Regions from separate parts of the Homo sapiens genome. Here regions 1, 2, 3, 4 and 5 are each linked to region 6. Evidence: promoter capture Hi-C in 16 types of primary human blood cells and fetal thymus (Javierre and others, 2016). All regions are on one chromosome and are shown on one strand. The core of a region is centred on a gene start or on the middle of the fragment in contact, and the rest is flanking DNA. Distances in the headings are between cores, read along the strand shown.

Region 1 (2,917 bases), core at 197-2,696, 550 kb after region 6:
CAGAAGTGGACATAAAAACAAATGTATGTAAAATAAGAGTTAGCTGAATTCAAGAAATTAATTGATGTCAAAATCATCATAGAAATGAGGACTAAATTGTAATCAATAAGTGAAAGACAGCTTGGCTCACACTGTATTTCCTTGAGTTTCTTGAACATGCTACTCCATTGTTGTCTTGCTTTCTATGTTATTGTTGGGAAGTTTGGTGCTAAACTTATTTTCATTCTTTTAAAGTTACTTCAACTTTTTGCCAAGAGGCCCTGAGCTTTATTTATTTACATTTGAAGTCTAAGATTTGGCACTGAGATTTTTATTGGTGCCAACCATTCTGGATCATCTTTCCCCCATACATGACGGACTGTATCTAGTATGACAATGCTGGTTTTATTTTGTTGCTGGAAAGTTTTTTTCTTTTAAGTATACTTTTAAACATTAGTTCTGTTTTATTGTTACATGGGGAATACATGGAGGTAAAGGGATATCAAATAAAGATTAAATCTGACAAACCAGGTAGTAGAAGGTTAAGTAAGGAAAGTAAGAGTATTATAAAAGACAGTAGTGTAAAGGTAACCACTAGAACAAAGTGACAAACCTGCCTAATTACCAAGGCAGGAAAAGAGCCCACATAGACACACAGAAAGTACAATATAATACTTACAGTGTGACGGCTCCCATGAGATGTCAGTTTGGCTGGGCTATAGCCCCCAGTTGTTCCATCAAACACTAATCTAGGTATTGCTGTTGAATGTTCTTGCTGATGCAATTAAAGCCCCTAATTCATTGATTTTAAGTAAGAGAGATTATCCTGGATAATCTGAGTGGGCCTGACTGAATCAATTAGGTAAGTCTTAAAAGCAGGGCTGAAGTTTCTCGAAGAGACAGAAAAAATTCTTCCTGTGGACAACAGCTTTGGCCTGTGCCTGTGGAATTTGAGCCTGCCAGTGAACTTCCCTTCGTGACTGCTTGCCCTAAGGATTTCAGGCTTTTTTAGCTAGGCCCTACAATTGCATAAGCCAATTCATGTAACAGACATACACCCTACATGTTCTACTTCTCTGATTCAACCTGACTGACACACACAGTAATAGAATAAAATAGTATGACAGAGTTGAAATTAAACATATCAGTGATATCAATAAATGTGAATGGGCTTAATTCACTATTTAGAGAAAATGATTCAGAGGAAATACAAGGTGAGTCTGGAGCATCTTGTAGTACCACAAAATAAGGAAGTAGTTTTTCTAAAAAAAAGGTAGGGCATGTCAAAGTGACACAGAAGGACAGAAGGCAATGTGAAAGAGCTCCCAATGAGCAAAGATGGAAAAATCTGAACAACAAAGTAAATCATGTACTACTGGATTATTACCCAAAGTACAAAATAAAAATATTTGAATCCTTAGTGGTATAAATAGATGATTGAATAAATAAATAAATGAGGGAAACAAGACAAATTTTCTTACAACAGAATTCCATGTTTATCAGAAATTTGTTAGAAATTTCTATAGATTCTCCCCTCTTGGAGATGATGCTTAATTATTATTGCCACCACCACTCCTTGAGTTTGGGCAAGACTTAGTGACTTCTTTCCAAACGAGGAAAAAAATCATCTTTACAGTAAAGAAACTATCACAACTGGCATCAGGATCCCTCATGTGACTCCCCCATATGCTTTAAATCCCTTTGACTTCCCCTTTTGCTACTAGCTGGAGAAAACTGCATTTAAAAGTGTTCATGTGATTTGACTAGGCTCACCTGAATAATCTTCCTTTTTTGAGGTCAACTACGCTGTGTAACACAATCATGAGAGGTATCTCATCATATATTAATATATCTATACAGGTTCTAGAGATTAGGGTATGACATTTTAGGGGCCATTTTAAGAATTCTACTTAACATACCGTCATATAAATATACATTTAAAATTAATAGTTGGGTGCGGTGGCTCTTGCCTGTAATCTCAGCACTTTGGGAGGCCAAGGCAGGTGGATCACATGAGGCCAGGAGTTTGAGACTAGCCTGACCAACATGGTAAAACCCCATCTCTACTAAAAATACAAAAATTAGCTGGGTGTGGTGGTGCATGTCTATAATCCCAGCTACTAGGGAGGCTGAGGCAGGAGAATCGCTTGAACCTGGGAGGCGGACATTGTGGTGAGCCTCCCACCTCACCATTGCTGGTGAGCACTCCAGCCTGGGCAAAACAGCAAGACTGTCTCAAAAATAAATAAATAAAATAATTAAATTAAATCACACTTACAGAAAACTGCATTTGTATGAAGAGGTTTTTCTTTTCGGAGAAATTGTTCTCCAAGAATCATCAGGTCTAACTGTAATACAATTTATTGGAAATTTATTACATTGTTATCACAACCTAAAAATGCATGTTGCTTTCATTATGTCAATTAAAAATGAGATTACTTGCCAGGCATGGTGGCTCACGCCTGTAATCCCAGCACTTTGGGAGGCCGAGGCGAGTGGATCACAAGGTCGGGGGATTGAGACTATCCTGGCTACGGAGAAACCCCGTATCTACTAAAAATACAAAAAAATTAGCCGGGTGTGGTGGCAGGCGCCTGTAGTCCCAGCTACTCGGGAGGCTGAGGCAGGAGAGTGGCGTGAACCCAGGAGGCGGAGCTTGCAGTCAGCCGTGTTTGCACCATTGCACTCCAGCCTGGGCGACAGAGCAAGACTCCATCTCAAAAAAAAAAAAAAAAAAAAAAAAAAAAAAAATGCGGTTACTAAAATTAAAAACTTTGAGGATCTAATAAATAATTTTCACAAAAGTGAGCCAAAAAAATCTTATGATCAATAAAAATACCACATTAATAAAATATTATTCATTGTATTATATAAAATTTTGACACCATTTTTGCAATTTGTATGTTTATATATCATTCAGGTATCATGTATCATTGCA
Region 2 (3,152 bases), core at 649-3,148, 520 kb after region 6:
CTAAAATTAGAGTTAGGGCTCAGTCTGTGGACCAGACTTAGACCACACCCAAGGTTAGGGCTCAGCTCAATGTTTGACTTTAGTTTTTGATCAATGTTGGAATCACTTTCATTTCTAGACTTGAAAGTCAATAAAGGCCAGGACCATGGCTCTGCCTGGGATTAGTCTTCATGCTGATGATGTTGCCTAGGAAAAAATGAAGTAAGAATATGAACAGGATTTATGTTCAGTCTTTCTTCAGGTTAAGTTTCAATTCGTATTCATGGTTAGAGTTTATTCTGGGTCCAATAATTAAGTCTCAGTCCGTGGCCAATGGTAAGGCACAGTCAATGTCTAATATTCAGTCTGTTGCCATGTTAGGACATTACCTGTCATGTGCCCTAGAGCCTTGTCTCAAACCAGAGTTAGCATTTCATATATGGACAAAATTATGATACAGTTTGTGGCCAGGATTTCAATGATGAATATGAACAGGATTTGGGATGCATATTTGGCTAGAGTAAGTTCAAGGTGTGGTTTCTGACTTTAGCCAGTGTCAGGATTCTGTCTTTGTCCATAGCTCATATCAACAATGTTCTATGGAGCTAACTCACAGTGGCCTGTGTTGGCCCTCATTCTGTGGCCAGAGCAGGGCTCAGTCGGTGACCTGTATTAGCCATTTCAATTTGACCACTATCAGAGTTGAGTCTGGAGGGAGTAATTCCACTATGACTTTATGTAGCATTTGTGTTCACTGAGTATTGGTGGTAGTGCTATCTGATTAAACTTGTACCAGAGTTTGGGAGTTACCAATAACCAAGGTAAGGCTTACTATGAAGAAGGTTTTAAGGCTAAGAGTGTAAACAGGTTTTTTGGATTAGCTGTTGATGTTATTTGTCAGTCAGTGGATAGAGTTGAGATGAGAACAAACAACACATAAAATCCAGATTGAAAGCTTTAGAGGCTCAGGCTGTAATCAGGGTTTTGGGATCAGGATGTTGCCAGGGTTTGAGTTCAGAGTGTTCATTGCCTGTTGTCAGTCTGGCACTTAGACTCTGGCTTAGTGTAGCAGGCATTTCGGTATCAGTAGTAGAGTTCAGTCTTTGCTAATTGTTAGTGACCATAATGTGCCCAGTGCCATGGGTACATCTATTCACAATTGAGGACTAAGTTTGTGACCAGACTGATTGCTCAACCTCCAGCTAGTGCTAGGACTCAGTTTGTGGCCACTAATACAGTGAACTTTGTTTATGGGTTTAAGACTTGATATGTGACAAAGGTGAGTACTTAGTCTCAGCCTGTTGTTAGATCTGATAATATGAGCAGGATTTTGATTTAGTCTTGTAGGGTCAGGAATCATTTCTCTAACCAGGCTTAGGGCTTGGCCTTTAGGTCTCAGACTGTGGTGGGACTTACAGTCTTCATCCCAGCTCAGTATTCAGAATGTGGCCAGGAAGAGGGCTCAGATCTTAGCCATGGTGAGTTCCGTCTGTGCTCAGGGTTAGAATTAAATCTGTTGCAGGGTTTTAGGCCAAGAAAATGAAAAGTATTTGTTTTGTCTTTGTCTAGTTTGTCCTTCATTCATCTTCAAGGTTTGGGTTCAGTCTCTGCCCAGTGCTGGTGAGCAGCTTAATTTCTGGTATTAGGAATCAGTCGGTAGCCAGGGTTAAAGTTAAAGTTGTGGTTGAAATTGGGATCCAGTCTCGGGTGAACATTTAGCCAGAGATAGGGTTCAGTCTATCTCAAAAATTCAGGATCAGTCATTAGCCATTTGGAGAAATCAGATTTATTTTCAGGTTGAAAGCTCATGTCAGAGGTTAGGCTTATGGGCTCAGTCTGTGATGAGAGTTAGGAATTCAGTCTATGGCTAGAGTTAGAGATGCAGTCTGTAACCAGTTAGAAGCTGTAAGGTTTAGGGGTCAAATCAGTGGCCAGTGATAGGGCTCAGTCTGTCCCAGGATCAGTAGATTATTTCCTGATCAGATTTATGAACCCAGTCTCTGTCCAGGTTTAGAACTTGGGCTTTGAACATGGTTAAGACTCAGTTTGTGGCCATGTTCAGGGTTCTGTCTATAGTCAGGATTAGGACATATGCTGTGGTCAAAATATTCTCAAGTTTTGTGGAAGATTTGGTTTCACTTCTTGGCCATGATTAAGGCACAGAGTTGGGACAAGTTTAGAGTCTGGTCTCTGTACATGTTTTCGTCTCTGTATGAGGCCAAGTTTAGTAGTCATTCTGTTGCCAATGTTGGGGTCATTTTCTGGTTAGTGCTAAGTCTGGGAAATTGTAGCTGGGTTGGTTTCCAAGATCAGATCTCAGGCTGTGACCAAGTTAGAGCCTCAGTCTGTAGTCAGGGCTAGAGCTCAGTTAGTATCTATGCTGAGCACTCATTTTGTGGTCAGTTCAGGATGTTAAGTATATCCCAGAGTTAGGTCATGCAGTCTGTAGCCTAGTTTAGAGACTCAGCCTGGGGACAGACTTAGGGGCTATATCTGATGTTATTTTTGATCCCTGTATCGTGAATTAAGGACTTATACAGTAGCCATAGTTATGGTTCAATAGGGGATCAGGGTTAGAGATTCAGGTTGGGACCAGTCTTAAGTACTTACTCTTGGGCCAGATGTAGACAGTCAGTATGTAACTAGGCCTAGGGACTTGATTTAATCAGGATTAAGACCTTGGAGTGTGGCCAGAAAGTGGCTCAGTTTGTGGATAGAATTAGGGTCTTCATTTGTGGCCAGGGTTAAAGGCTTGGTGTGAAATTGGAGTTAAGCCTCCAAGTTCAGAGTTAGGAGTTTAGGCTATGTCTTGGGTTAGGTGTTTGGCTGGTGGTCAGGGTTAAACACAGGATCTGCATTCAGTGTTGGCAGCTTGCTCTGTGACCAAGCTTAAGAGACTGTTTGCTCAGCCTGTGGTGATAGTGATTGGTAATTATACATCAATAAAGTTGTCATAAAAGGTTAAAAAAGTGGATTCATACAAGTGAAATGGTAGGAATGATGCAGGGAAGAAACCATAAAGAGAGGCCGTTTACTGAATCAGGACCAGCAATGTCCTTGGTGTCTCAGAATTTTTGCTTAAGAAGGACAGGGCAAGCACATGAGATTGAGAAGAAAGGAAAGAACTGGTGACCAGGGAGCTGGTAACCCTGGGAAGTAGATATGTGCTTCTT
Region 3 (2,869 bases), core at 37-2,536, 770 kb before region 6:
GCACCTGTCTTAATACCCAGGACTCACTGGGGCCACCTTCAGCCTTGGAGACAAGATGGGCCAGAGGGAGAACAGCTGGTGGCCCACATCTGCTTTTGCTTTTGTTTGGACAAAGATGATGTGCCATGTCCTTTTCTCTGTCACTGTGCATTGGTCAGAATATGTGGAGTTATGCTGCAATAACACAGAAACCCTGAAATCTCAGGGGTTTAACACAAGAAAGGCTTATTTCTGGTTCTCACAAAAGTCTAGTGCAGGTTGGATGACACGTAGTAAGGCCAACCTGAAACATGTGGCCTCCTAGAACTCCACAGCAGGGGGAAAGACAGATGGAGAAGTAAATAGTCTTAGTCAGCATGGGCTGTCATAACAAACTAGCATAGACTGGGTAGCTTAAAGAAGAGGAATTCATTTCTCACAGTTCCACAGCTGGAAAGCCCACAGTCAAGACACTGGCAGATTCAGTGTCAGGTAAGGGCACTCTTTCTGGCTTGCAGATGGCTGACTTCTCGCTGTGTCTTCCCATGGCTGAGAGAGAGCTAGCTCTCTGGTATCTCCTCTTACGAAGGCACTAATCCTATTGGATCAGGGCCCCATACTCATTTAACCTTAATTACTTCCTAACACCAAATACAGCCACACTGGCGGTCTAGTGTTTCAATATATGGATAAGGGGGACACAATTCAGCCCATAACAGCACACCAACTCTTAACTGTCTTGGCCCAGAAATGATGCACATTAAGTTCACTGACTCTCTTGGTCAGAATTAGTCACGTGGCCCAAGCTTAATTGCAAGAAAGGCTGAGAAATGTAGGGGAGCAAATATTTGCTGAGCGCAATCTGTGCCACACACTGTCTTCTAGGCTGAGCCTTGAGGAAGAAGGAAAGTCTCGAAAGTCAGAACAGTGGCTCGGATGTAAAGTGTAAGGAAACACACACCTGGGACTGTCTGCCAGGCAGGTTCAAGGAACCAAGACCAGGAACCTGGTTCTGAATAGAATTCTTGGGGGAAGAGGGGGGAGGAGGGAACTTGTCCCTGTGTTTGGTATATTTCGAGGTTTACTATGTCTTCTGCCCAGGATGTGAACACAAATCCTTCATCACAGATATATCAATAGACACTCAGGAAATTCAGATGAATTAGGCAGAGATCAGAGTTTTTATTCTGTTTTTAAAAATCAACATATTGAATGTTTCCCCCAAAACTACGTGTTTTATTTTATTTATTTATTTATTTTGAGACAGAGTCTCACTCTGTCACCCAGGCTGGAGCACAGTGGCGCAATCTCGGCTCACTGCAAGCTCCGCCTCCCGGGTTCACGCCATTCTCCTGCCTCAGCCTCTCAAGTAGCTGGGACTACAGGCGCCCGCCACCATGCCCTGCTAATTTTATGTATTTTTAGTAGAGACGGGGTTTCACCGTGTTAGCCAGGATGGTCTCAATCTCCTGACCTTGTGATCCGCCCGCCTCAGCATCCCAAAATGCTGGGATTACAGGCGTGAGCCACTGTGCCCGGCCAACGTGTTTTTTTTTTTTTTTAACAATCATTTTCCACTACATAGCAATAGGAAGAGGGTTAACACAATTATGTCAAATAGGAATCTTCAGGAGCGAGCTTTAGTGAATAGATAAGCCTGATATGCAAGCAGCACAGCCATGGTTGATTTCTAACTTGCTGGTGGGTCTGTTTTTTTAAACAGAAGATCCTGGGTTCCTTTGGTGGGTACTGGGAGGCAGTGTATCAAACCCACTGTCTCATAGCCCAACCGCTATATGAACTAGTTCAAAGCTTGAATTGGTGAAGTCCAAAAAAGAGAAGCTTTGCTTTTCCAACATGTTCAGAACTGTGATGGGAAAATGGTTGACTAAGTGCCACATCTTTCCTCTGCTCGAATAGAATGTAGATCATTGAGCCATGTGTAGTGACAAGGTGTTTTTGGGAAAGGTCTCAATGCTATGAATTGTTATTGTGCTCATGACCCTCCCTTAAGATGGCGTAAACGCCCTGGCATGATCAGCCCACACCTGCCTCTTTAACCTTATCTCTCTGCCTAATCCCATAGGGACACCAGCCTCCATTCTGGTCCAAGAGGCCCCAAGTCCTTTGCTGCCCTGGGGCTTTTGTGCTGGCTGTTCTCTCTGCCTGGAATGTTCTTCCTCCAGATTTTTGTGGGCTGCTTCCTTTTCATCTTTCAGGCTCAGCTCAAAAGCCACTAGCTCATAGAGGTCTGACAACCCATATAAAGTCAAAGTATCTCCCCTGGTACCCCAGAAACACATATACTGTTTGTCATCACCCAGTTTATTTCTTTGTTAATAAATATCACAGTCATCCCCTATCTTGTTCATCAATTACTTACTTCTGAATGTCTTCGGAGAAATTTCTTAGGGCTGAGCCTACTAGACTGTGAGTTTCCCAAGGGAAAATAGGGACTGAGGTCTCTATAGCCTTTGTCTCCTGCAAGGTAGGGAAGAGGCAGTGATGACTCATGTTTAAGAATACTTGAGTTCTGGCTGGGCATGGTGGCTCATGCCTGTAATCCCAGCACTTTGGGAGGCCGAGGCAGGTGGATTGCTTGAGGTCAGGAGTTCAAGACCAGCCTGGCCAACACGGTGAAATCTTGTCTCTACTAAAAATACAAAAATTAGCCAGGCATGGTGGCGGGCGCCTGTAATCCCAGCTACATGGGAGGCTGAGGCAGGAGAATTGCTTGAACCTGGAAGGCAGAGGTTGCAGTGAGCCAAGATCATACCACTGCAATCCAGCCTGGGTGGCAGAGCAAGACTCCATCTCAAAAAAAAGAAATACTTGAGTCCTAAAGTAGTAGTAGAGTTATCAAATTCCCAGGTGAAAGACACTCCTGAGG
Region 4 (3,206 bases), core at 559-3,058, 570 kb after region 6:
AAAAAGCTCCTGTCTCCAACCGGCCCTCTTCATGCTTCATTTCTCCAGACTGAGCAACCTTCCCACCCTCTGTGTAACTAATTGGCTTAGAGATATTACTGCCTCACCAGTGGGCTAGGAAACTGAGCTCTTGCCTTCAGCTTTCATTGCTTTTCCAGGCATGGCGGAGCAGTAGTAGGTGGCAGCTGTGTCCCAAAATGTTTCCATTCTCTCTCCCTTCCTCCCTCCTTTCTTCTCTTCTTCTGATCCTGTCCAAGACTGACAGGCGTTATGGGAGCACTGTCATTTTGCTGCTTTGAGTCCCCCAAAACCAACATGTTGAACATTGCTCTATACACATCATACAGAGGGCACATTAGTTTTGCTTGGTGAGCACACCCTAATTGGGTTCCCAGAGGGAAATTCTAATGCCAGTGCAGAGAATTAAGAACCAGCCAACAGATGGGGTGAGAAGCATGATGAGGAGGGTGGCAGCCAGGGCCACATCTTCTGGAGTCTATATCAACCATGAGACTGACAGGTTGGATCTGGGGGAAGCAGCTAAGCTCCCAGTGGAAAGATTGGATCAGATGGCAGAATGAAGTCATTTTTCACAATATTTACAAAGTAAATATCTGCCCACTCAGGGATACCTTTGCAGAATATGAAAGCAGCCACTTTGGACCTGCTATTTTGTTTTGTTTTGTCACTTTTTGAGGGGGTGGGGGAAGGAGGGTATTTTCCTCCTGGGTTCCTTGGACATAGACTCAAGTCATGAGGCCCATATTCCTATCCAAGATATCCCAGCCTAATAATCCCCAGCCTGTGGGTTGCAGACTCCTTACTGCAAGTAGTCCACAAATCCACATGCTTCAATGTTCCATACTTTTGTAATTGGGTAACTTTCTGAGGTACCTTTTTTTTTTCCGAGAACCTTCTTTGAAGTCTCAGTTATTAGTTTTTCTCTTTTCTCTAAGCAAGAATTATTCCCTTAATGATCTCATCCAGTCCCCAAGGTTTACTATCTTAATCCCTTCCCCCCAACTCTACTGCCAAACCCTCTCCACCTGCAGCCTTCACCATATTAACACCTTTACATCATCCTTGACACTTCTCTTTCTCTCACATCTTACATGCGTCTGTTAGAAAATTCTGTTCTACTTTCAAAACACTATGTATCCAGAATCCAACTGCTTCTCTCTACCTTTACGTTACTGCTATCATCCTAGTCGGAGCAATTATCCATTTATTCCTGGATTTATGCAGAAGTTTCCTAGCTGTTCTCCCTGCTGCCACCCTTGCCCTTCAAAGTTTGTTCTTAACAGCCAAGTGATGCTTTATTCTAATTGAAATTTTTATTGAGCTAATTGTAGATTCACATGCAGTTGTAAGAAATAATTTAGAGAGACCCATTGACACTTTGCTAAGCTTCCCAAATAGCAGCATTTTGCAACACTATAGTATAATATCACAACCAAGATACCGATACACTGATACAAATCACTAATTTGATTCTGATTTCTCCAGTTTTACTTTATACTTGTGTGTGTAGTAAGTTCTATACAATTTTATCACGTGTAGATTCACAAATTTAGCACCAGTCAAGATACAGAACATTTCCACAAGGATCCTTTGTGTTGCTCTTTTATAGCCATGCACACAACCCTCCTGTGCACCCCACAGTCCCATCCCTAAACTCTGGCAACCACTAACCTGTCATTCATTTCTAATATTTGGCATTTCATAATGTTCTATGAATGGGATTATACAGTGTGTCACCTTTTGGGATTGGCCTTTTAAAAAATTTAGCATAATTCTCCAAGTTGTGTTTATCAATAGTTCATTGCCTTAATTGCTGAGTAATATTCCAAATATTCCATGGTATATTAGTTTGATAGGGCTGTCATAACAAAGTACCAAAAACTACATGGCTTAAAACAACAAGAATTTGTTGCTCTACAGCTCTGGAGGCTAGCTGTCCCAAATCAAGTCAGCTGTCTCTGAAACTGTCATGGTAGAATACTTCCTTGTCATTTCCTAGCTACTAGTAGTGGCTGGCAATCTTTGGCTTGCAGCTGCCATCAGTCCAATCTTTGCCTACATTATCACATAACCATCTTCATGTCATCTTCCCTCTGTGCATGTTTGTCTCTGTGTCCAAATTTCCCCTCTTTATTTTATTAAGGAGAGGAGGGCAAGGGAACTTCTGGGGGAACGAGGGATCAAAGAGGAAGCTTAAGTGTCTAGGTTATATCACTGAGCAGCAGAGACTCTGAAGGGTAACAGTGGCTTAGAGTCTTTAGCCCTGTGGTTTGTCTTATCTCTGGCTAACAGGTGTTGGATGCAGTTTTGTGGAGTATGCAAAGCAGGAAGGCTCTAAATGAGTAAATATCTGTTTATTTGAGCTACATTTATAACAAAAGAATGTGTGAAAATTTGACCTTAGTACTGATGGGCTTTTGAGCTAATAAATCCTGGCTTGTGAAAAAAATAAACAAGATAGGGCTAACATACAGAGGCCATCTTTGACTCATTTGTATAACAGTGGGTCATATGGAAACTACATTTAATATGTTGAAGAAGTACCAAACTGTTATTCAGAGTGGCTACATTCTCACCCGTAATGTATGAGTGATCCAGTTTCTCCTCATCCTTGGCAGCATCTGATGTTGTCACTATTTTTTATTTTAGCTAAGCTGATAGTAGTGTAGTGATATATCATTGTGATTTTTTTTCACATTTCTTTAATCACTAATAATGTTGAATATCTTTCCATGTACTTATTTGCCATCTGTATATCATCCTCAGTGAAATGTCTGTTTATGTCTTTTTTCTATTATTTAATTGGATTTTTTAAACTGCTGAGTTTGGGTTACTCCTATACTCTAAATATTGTCCTTTCTGGATATGTGGTTTGCAGATATTTTCTCCCACTCTGTAGCTTGTTGTTTCATCCTCTTAATAGGGTCCTTTGCAGAGAAAAAGTTTTTTATTTTGATGAAGTCTTATCAATTTTTTCCTTTTATAAATTGTATTTTTAGTGTCAAATTTAATAAATCCTTGTCTAGCCTTAGACCCTGAAGATTTTCTCCTACTTAAAAAACTTTTTTAAAAAGTTTTATAATTTTATGTTTTACATTGAAGTCCATGATCCATTTTGAACTTTTATAAGGTATGAGGTTTAAGTTAAGGGTCATTTGTTGTCTATGAATGTCCAATACCTCTAG
Region 5 (2,857 bases), core at 245-2,744, 790 kb before region 6:
CAGGCAACAAAACAACTCAATTAGAGGAAAGGATGTTGATTCTTAATGCATGTAAATGTCACACTAGGTCAGATCTGTGATCCCTCCGGCCCCAGAAACAAACCCTAAGATACACATCTGGGGAGAACCCAGCTACCCCTGCTCAGTAGTCTCAGTAGTTTAGACGCGCTTCCCCAAAGAGCTTGTTTTCACATAATCCTATTTTGCAGCTTTTGAAAACCAGTTTTGAACTTTTATGACTTCTTGGGGTGATCAAGTCCATAAATTTAGTACTTTTTTGTTGTTCTAATCTGAACTGCCTAACACGTTGGGAGGAAACCGCTGATTTGAGCATGGTGCCAATGCTTCCCTGCCAATCTCCATTATGAATTTGTGGATTCTGATTCCATTCCCTTTGAGACTGAAGAAGCCTCAGCTGGAGGTTTCTTCTCTACTAAGGCCCTCTTCCAATTCCCTCCAACTGTGAGCTTGACCCTGATGAATGTGCTGACTCAGTGTTGTCATAAACAACTTTCAAAGCCCCACCCAAAGCCTTGGCAGGAGAAGGTGTTTCTTTCTGAGAGTGATTTTCCCCCCAGCAGATGGAGACTGACACCAGAAGTTTTTACATAGTAGCAGGCAATGAGAATAGCAGGCAGGTGGTCAGTCTTTCCAGAGGTTAGAGAGGAAATGGCATCCCCAGCTGTGAGGCTTCTGTTATAGGAGACCCATTAGGACCTTTCTGATTGCAGGGCAAGTTGAAGAACTGGCTCTTGGTGTAGCCTCATAATGTAAAAGCCACACATTGCAACAGTGGCATCACTAAATGTTAGGGAGAGAACCTTAGTGGTGACCTAATCCAATCTCATTGTTTGGATAGGGAAAGTCTCAGAGGGGACAATGACTGACCTAAGGTTACTTAGGTTAGTGACACTGCATGGCATAGTGGCATTTGTTTTTTCAAGCAGTTCTACTCTGCTTGCCCATTAATTCCTTTGGTGGCATCTTATCAATTTCCGTGGCTGTAAATGTCTGTAATACCCCTGATTCCAAATGTTACGTCTCCACCTCATAGCTCTCTTCCGAGTTCCTGCCCAGTATATCCAATTAGTTAGCTGGCATCTCCCCTCAGATGTCTCACAGGCATGTCAAGCTTCACACGTCCAAAGTGGAATTCTTTTACTTCTGGTTCTTTTACTACCACCCAACCTAGATCCTCTACCTGTCTTCCCTCAGCTCAGAGAATGTCAACACCATCTGCCCAGTTGCTGGGGCTAAGCATCTAGGAGTTAGCCTTGATTTCTCTCTTTCCTACCGACCGACCACCTCAGCAACGTGCCCCACGCGTCTGCTTTTCATCACCCCCACTGCCAATTTTATTGGTCAAGGCCACCACCATCATCCCTTCTTAGGGTGTCGTCATGGCCTCCTGCCTAGTCTTCTTTCTCTCTCTCTCTCTTTTTTTTCTTTTTTGAGACAGGGTCTTACTCTGTTGCCTCAGCTGGAGTGCAGTGGCATGATCGGCTCACTGCTGCAGCCTGACTTCCCAGGTTCAAGCGATGCTCCCACCTCAGCCTCCGAGTAGCTGGGACTGTAGGCGCACATTACCAAGCCTGGCTAATTAAAAAAAAAATAATTGTAGAGGTAGGGTCCCCCTGTGTTGCCCAGGCTGGTCTCAAACTCCTGGGCTCAAGCAGTCCTCCCACCTTGGCTTCACAAAGTGCTGGGATTAGAGGCATGAGCCCACCATGCCCTGCCTGGTCTTTTTAACTTTGCTGCCCTCCAATCCATTTTCCACGCAGCAGGCAGCATGACTTAATTACATCAGTCTCATCCCTCCCCTGTTGATAACCCTTCAGCGACATTTACAATGAAACCTAAGCTTCGCCATGGCCCACCAGGCCCTGCATCAATGGGTCTCAAATCTTCATGTGCAGAAGAATCACCTGGATACATTGTTAAAAAGCAGATTCCTAGGCTCCAGAAATTCTGAGTCAGTTGGTCTGAGAGGAGGCACAGGAGTCTGCATTCTAAATCAGGACCCAAGAGCATTTTGATGCAGGACCACACTTTGAGAATACCACCCTAAAGGATCTGACCTCTGCCTACCATAACCCTTCCTCACCCCTGCCAATATACTCTGATACTGTCCTTTTACTCCTCCCAGTGAGCTGAACTCTTTCCAGCCTCAGGGCCTTTGCATGTGCTGTTTACCCAGAAAACTCCTTCCTCTCTCTTTCTTGCCTCAGTCCCCATCTTTGCTGTGCCTAACCCTAAGTCACCCGCCCTGTCCCATTGACTCTCTGCCCTCATTCCTGGGCTTCCTGGTATAGCATGCTGGCTGACTGCCCCTGGGCTTGCCATGTACTCTTCCACAATCTTCCTCTTCCTCTCTTGATGACCTCACGTACCTGCTCCACGGGGCCTGGGGAGGCAGGAAGCTATAGTGGTTCTTCACATAGGCTCTAATGACCAGACTGCCTGAGTTCAAATCCCAGCTCTGCCACTTCTAGATGTGTGACCCTGATCAAAAGTTAATTGACGTCTCTGTGCCTTGGTTTCCATGTCTTTTCTCTCCAGCTTTATTGGGTATAATTGAGAAGACAAATTGTACGTATTGAAGGTGTTTCCACATCTTAAAAGTAATGATAGCACCTTTCCTCATAGTATCATCATGAGGATGAGATCAGATACTACATTTCCAGGCCTTGGAACAGTGCCTGGTGCCTAAGTGCTAAATAAATGGCAGCTAGTGCAATTATTCCCAAGCCCTCCATGGGCCTCCAGGCCCAGAACCCGCTTCTGCTGCCCTTCAGCTCCCAGCAAGTGACTGTACCCTTTACTTTGTGAAAATGTCAAAACAGCCTTGCCCCCTGCA
Region 6 (3,306 bases), core at 364-2,863:
ACATGTAAAATTATGCGTGTGGCTCACATTATATTTCTGTTGGACAGTGCTGCTCTGGTATACTCAAAAATAGAATTTGATCTATAAGCATCTTTTTAGCAGTACATTTCTTGCTTTAAGTAAGTGTACCTGTACACCAGAGACAGGCTCATTTCAAAAGAAGGACAGGGAGGAGTGGCGATTTGAAAATGGGGAAACTGATTATAGAAGAAAGTCAGGACTCTGCCTCAGTTACCTGTCAGTCTGGGGGTGGGGGATGCTGGGACAGGGGTCAATTGCCTGAAGCAAGTGCTCTCATCCCCCTAGCTCCTGCTGATCTAGTTGGGGCTCCAGAGTGGGGAGGAGAAAGGCACTTTGAAACTTCTCTGCCCTTACCGTCTTAGCCATCAAACTCTGAGCTGGAGATAGTGACGATGTGACAGGAACTTTCCCTGGGCCTCTCTGGGCCACAATTCCTGGCCGAGAGAAAGAGGAGGAATGAGGTGAGCACCTTCTTCACTCCTAGGGCCATGTGGTAGAGCTGCAGTCGCACCTCCTTCTGCCAATAGGCATAGATGAGTGGGTTGAGCAGGGAGTTGCCCACGCCGAGCAGCCACAGGTACCGTTCCAGCACTAGGTAGAGGTGACACTCCTGGCAGGCCACCTGCACAATGCCAGTGATAAGGAAGGGGGTCCAGGATAGAGCAAAGCTCCCAATGAGAACAGACACAGTACGGAGAGCTTTGAAGTCGCTGGGAGTCCGTGGGGATCGATAACCTCCAGCCATGGCTCCTGCATGTTCCATCTTTCGAATCTGCTGGCTGTGCATGGAGGCAATCTTGAGCATGTCGCAGTAGAAGAAGACAAAGAGGAGCATGGCTGGGAAGAAGCCAACGCAGGAGAGGGTCAGCACGAAGTGAGGGTGAAATACAGCAAAGAAGCTGCACTGCCCTTTGTAGGCAGTCTGCTGGAACATGGGGATTCCGAGTGGGAGGAAGCCAATGAGGTAAGACACTAACCACAGCCCGGCAATGCAGGCCCCGGCCACGAACCCACTCATGATCTTCAAGTAGCGGAAGGGCTGCTTGATGGCAAGGTACCTGTCAAAGGTGATCAGCATGACCGTGAGGACAGAGGCAGCTGCGGAGGAAGTGACAAATGCCATCCGCAGGCTGCACAGGGTCTTCTGTGTGGGCCGAGAAGGGCTGGAGAGCTGGTCTGTGAGTAGGCCAGAGATGGCCACACCAATCAAGGTGTCAGCCACAGCCAGATTCAAGGTGAAGCAGAGACTGACACCATCATTCTTGTGGATCAACAGCAGCACAGCCACAGCCACTAGTGTGTTAGTAGCAATGATGAGGGAGGCCAGGACAGCAAGGATCACTCCAAATGAGAAAGATGATTCCATGTCTCGAAGTGGCAGGACTTCACTTACCAGGGCATGCTATCTCTCCAGCTGAAATTCTCATGGGCCAGGGGCAGAGGAGCTGTGGGTTCAGAGCTACAGCACGATTCTGGCCTTCGCTGGCAGTCCAGGCTGGCAGGTCGCCATCTTTGGGATCCTACAGGTCATGAAGAATTACTCACCCTCTCTTTTCAGTCCTCAGCCTCCTGCCTCTCCAGCTCTCTAAAGGCAGCAACTTCAGTATAGACCTCCCCCTGGGCCCTGAGCTAGTCCCTCCCCCTCCAACCAGCAAGTTACTAGACAACTCCCAAGTACCTGTACATGCTGTCTCGCCAGGCCCTCTCCCTTCACTGGTGCTTCAGGGACTCTGGAGGGACAGGGACATTCATCAGGTCTCCTGTCTGTCAAAAGATATAATTGACTCCAATCATACTTTTTTCTTCCTCCATACCTTGACATTAAATTTCTACTTTTCTTCCAAAACCTCGAGTACCAGCTTAAATAATTAATCTCAGCTTAATTAAGCTTTTTCTTACTAATTCTCAATTACTATTATGAATTGCTTTTAATCAAGCAAGATGCTCATAATCAGTTGAAGTGGGAAGTGAGGGAAGGTGAGCTTTTTGAGGGGCCCCAGCATATTTTCAGGAGTGCTACCACACATTTAAGCTGTTTCTTACCTTTTGCTTCCTAGCGCCTCAAATTCTAATTCTCTCAAGTAGGGCGTGCTGTTCCCCCGTTTCTCATCCCTAGGATCTCAGTTGAGGATTCAGGACAGGAAAAACAGGGCCAAAAACTGTTAACAGCTGTCATTCAGTTTAGAACCCATTCTCCACCTCACGCTGCTGTCTCTCAAGTATACTAATTGATAATTATTTCTGCAGCATGTTGGGCCAGGTCTGGTCAGTGAGTAGTGGCTGCTGGGCTTGCCTTTCTTAATCCTATAGACCTGAGGTATCTCTGCGGGAGGAGAAGAGGAGATGAGCTGCATTCTGGGAAGTGTCTGCTTGATGTTTGGCTATGGAATTTTCCATTTTCCAGGAATAGGAACGTGGGGGCGGTTGAGGGGGGGAGGTTAGACCAAAGGGCAACTGTGTTGCTGAAGCAGGTGAGATGCACTCTGGAGGGGCAGCTGCATAAGTCACTCCTGTTTTAGGATGTGTATCCATTTGCTTGGGTACATTAGAACTACCCTTTCGCCTGCCACTCTCATCTTGGATACCAAGAAGAGAGGGGTGGGGAGAAGAGTGGTTAGAAGCTTATTTACTCAGTTCAGGTGAGAGCACAAATGGGAAAGGTTAGTGTTTGAAGTGAGGGAATAGAGAGCAAGGTGCAGAGTTGGACGCAAATATATTCCAGGATGTTTTGACAGTCTGAGAGGGCCTTTGGCAGATGTCTCTCCTAAAAAAGGATCAGAAAGACTGTGTTGTGGGGATTCAGTATTCTAGTTGCCATCCTGAAAACAGTTCTTATTCTTTGGTATGTCCATTAGGAGATTGATTCCAGTTGCTTAGAACCTAGCCTAATTTTATACCTGGACCTAAGGTGTGCTTGGGTTTCCCCAGCTCTTGACTCCACGGAGTCAAGTTAGCCCTTTTCAAACCCATGTTCAAACTTGAGAGTGTATCAGAATCACCTGGAGGGTGTCTTAAAACCCAGGTTCTTGGGTCCTACTCCCAGAGTTTCAGGTCATTGGTGAGTCTGAGAATCTGCATTTCTTTCTTTCTTTTCTTTTTTATTTTTATTTTTATTTTTTTTTTTTTTTGAGAAGGAGTTTCGCTCTTGTCGCCCAGGCTGGAGTGCAATGGTGTGATCTCAGCTCACTGCAACCTCCACCTCCCAGGTTCAAGCAATTCTCCTGCCTCAGCCTCCTGAGTAGCTGGGATTACAGGTGTGCAGCCACCACGCCCAGCTAATTTTGT

The links. The method cuts DNA at HindIII sites, captures the fragments that hold promoters and counts their contacts. A CHiCAGO score of 5 or more calls a contact.
Region 1: a fragment that was not itself captured here is called in contact with the fragment with the promoter of GPR119 in region 6 in 7 of 17 cell types (M2 macrophages, M0 macrophages, M1 macrophages and 4 more); the score reaches 7.6 in M2 macrophages.
Region 2: a fragment that was not itself captured here is called in contact with the fragment with the promoter of GPR119 in region 6 in 12 of 17 cell types (M2 macrophages, M0 macrophages, naive B cells and 9 more); the score reaches 10.1 in M2 macrophages.
Region 3: a fragment that was not itself captured here is called in contact with the fragment with the promoter of GPR119 in region 6 in 1 of 17 cell types (neutrophils); the score reaches 5.1 in neutrophils.
Region 4: a contact is called between a fragment that was not itself captured here and the fragment with the promoter of GPR119 in region 6, in 7 of 17 cell types (megakaryocytes, naive CD8 T cells, M0 macrophages and 4 more). The highest score is 8.0, in megakaryocytes.
Region 5: a fragment that was not itself captured here is called in contact with the fragment with the promoter of GPR119 in region 6 in 2 of 17 cell types (activated CD4 T cells and total CD4 T cells); the score reaches 6.5 in activated CD4 T cells.

Annotation. Positions count from the first base shown.
Region 1 is chrX:130,931,876-130,934,792 of GRCh38, forward strand. No RefSeq gene overlaps it. Among named protein-coding and RNA genes, the nearest start is that of ENOX2, 30 kb to the left of the region's middle. The HindIII fragment of the contact is 3,380 bases long and covers 1-2,917 here.
Region 2 is chrX:130,907,388-130,910,539 of GRCh38, forward strand. No RefSeq gene overlaps it. Among named protein-coding and RNA genes, the nearest start is that of ENOX2, 5.8 kb to the left of the region's middle. The HindIII fragment of the contact is 1,933 bases long and covers 933-2,865 here.
Region 3 is chrX:129,610,448-129,613,316 of GRCh38, forward strand. No RefSeq gene overlaps it. Among named protein-coding and RNA genes, the nearest start is that of APLN, 43 kb to the right of the region's middle. The HindIII fragment of the contact is 1,006 bases long and covers 784-1,789 here.
Region 4 is chrX:130,950,325-130,953,530 of GRCh38, forward strand. No RefSeq gene overlaps it. Among named protein-coding and RNA genes, the nearest start is that of ENOX2, 49 kb to the left of the region's middle. The HindIII fragment of the contact is 806 bases long and covers 1,406-2,211 here.
Region 5 is chrX:129,592,812-129,595,668 of GRCh38, forward strand. No RefSeq gene overlaps it. Among named protein-coding and RNA genes, the nearest start is that of OCRL, 54 kb to the left of the region's middle. The HindIII fragment of the contact is 729 bases long and covers 1,131-1,859 here.
Region 6 is chrX:130,384,061-130,387,366 of GRCh38, forward strand. It overlaps GPR119 (G protein-coupled receptor 119), which reads right to left and starts at 1,614. Exons shown (of 2, transcript NM_178471.3): 1 at 376-1,614. The coding sequence starts at 1,387. The coding sequence ends at 380. The HindIII fragment of the contact is 2,318 bases long and covers 1-1,907 here.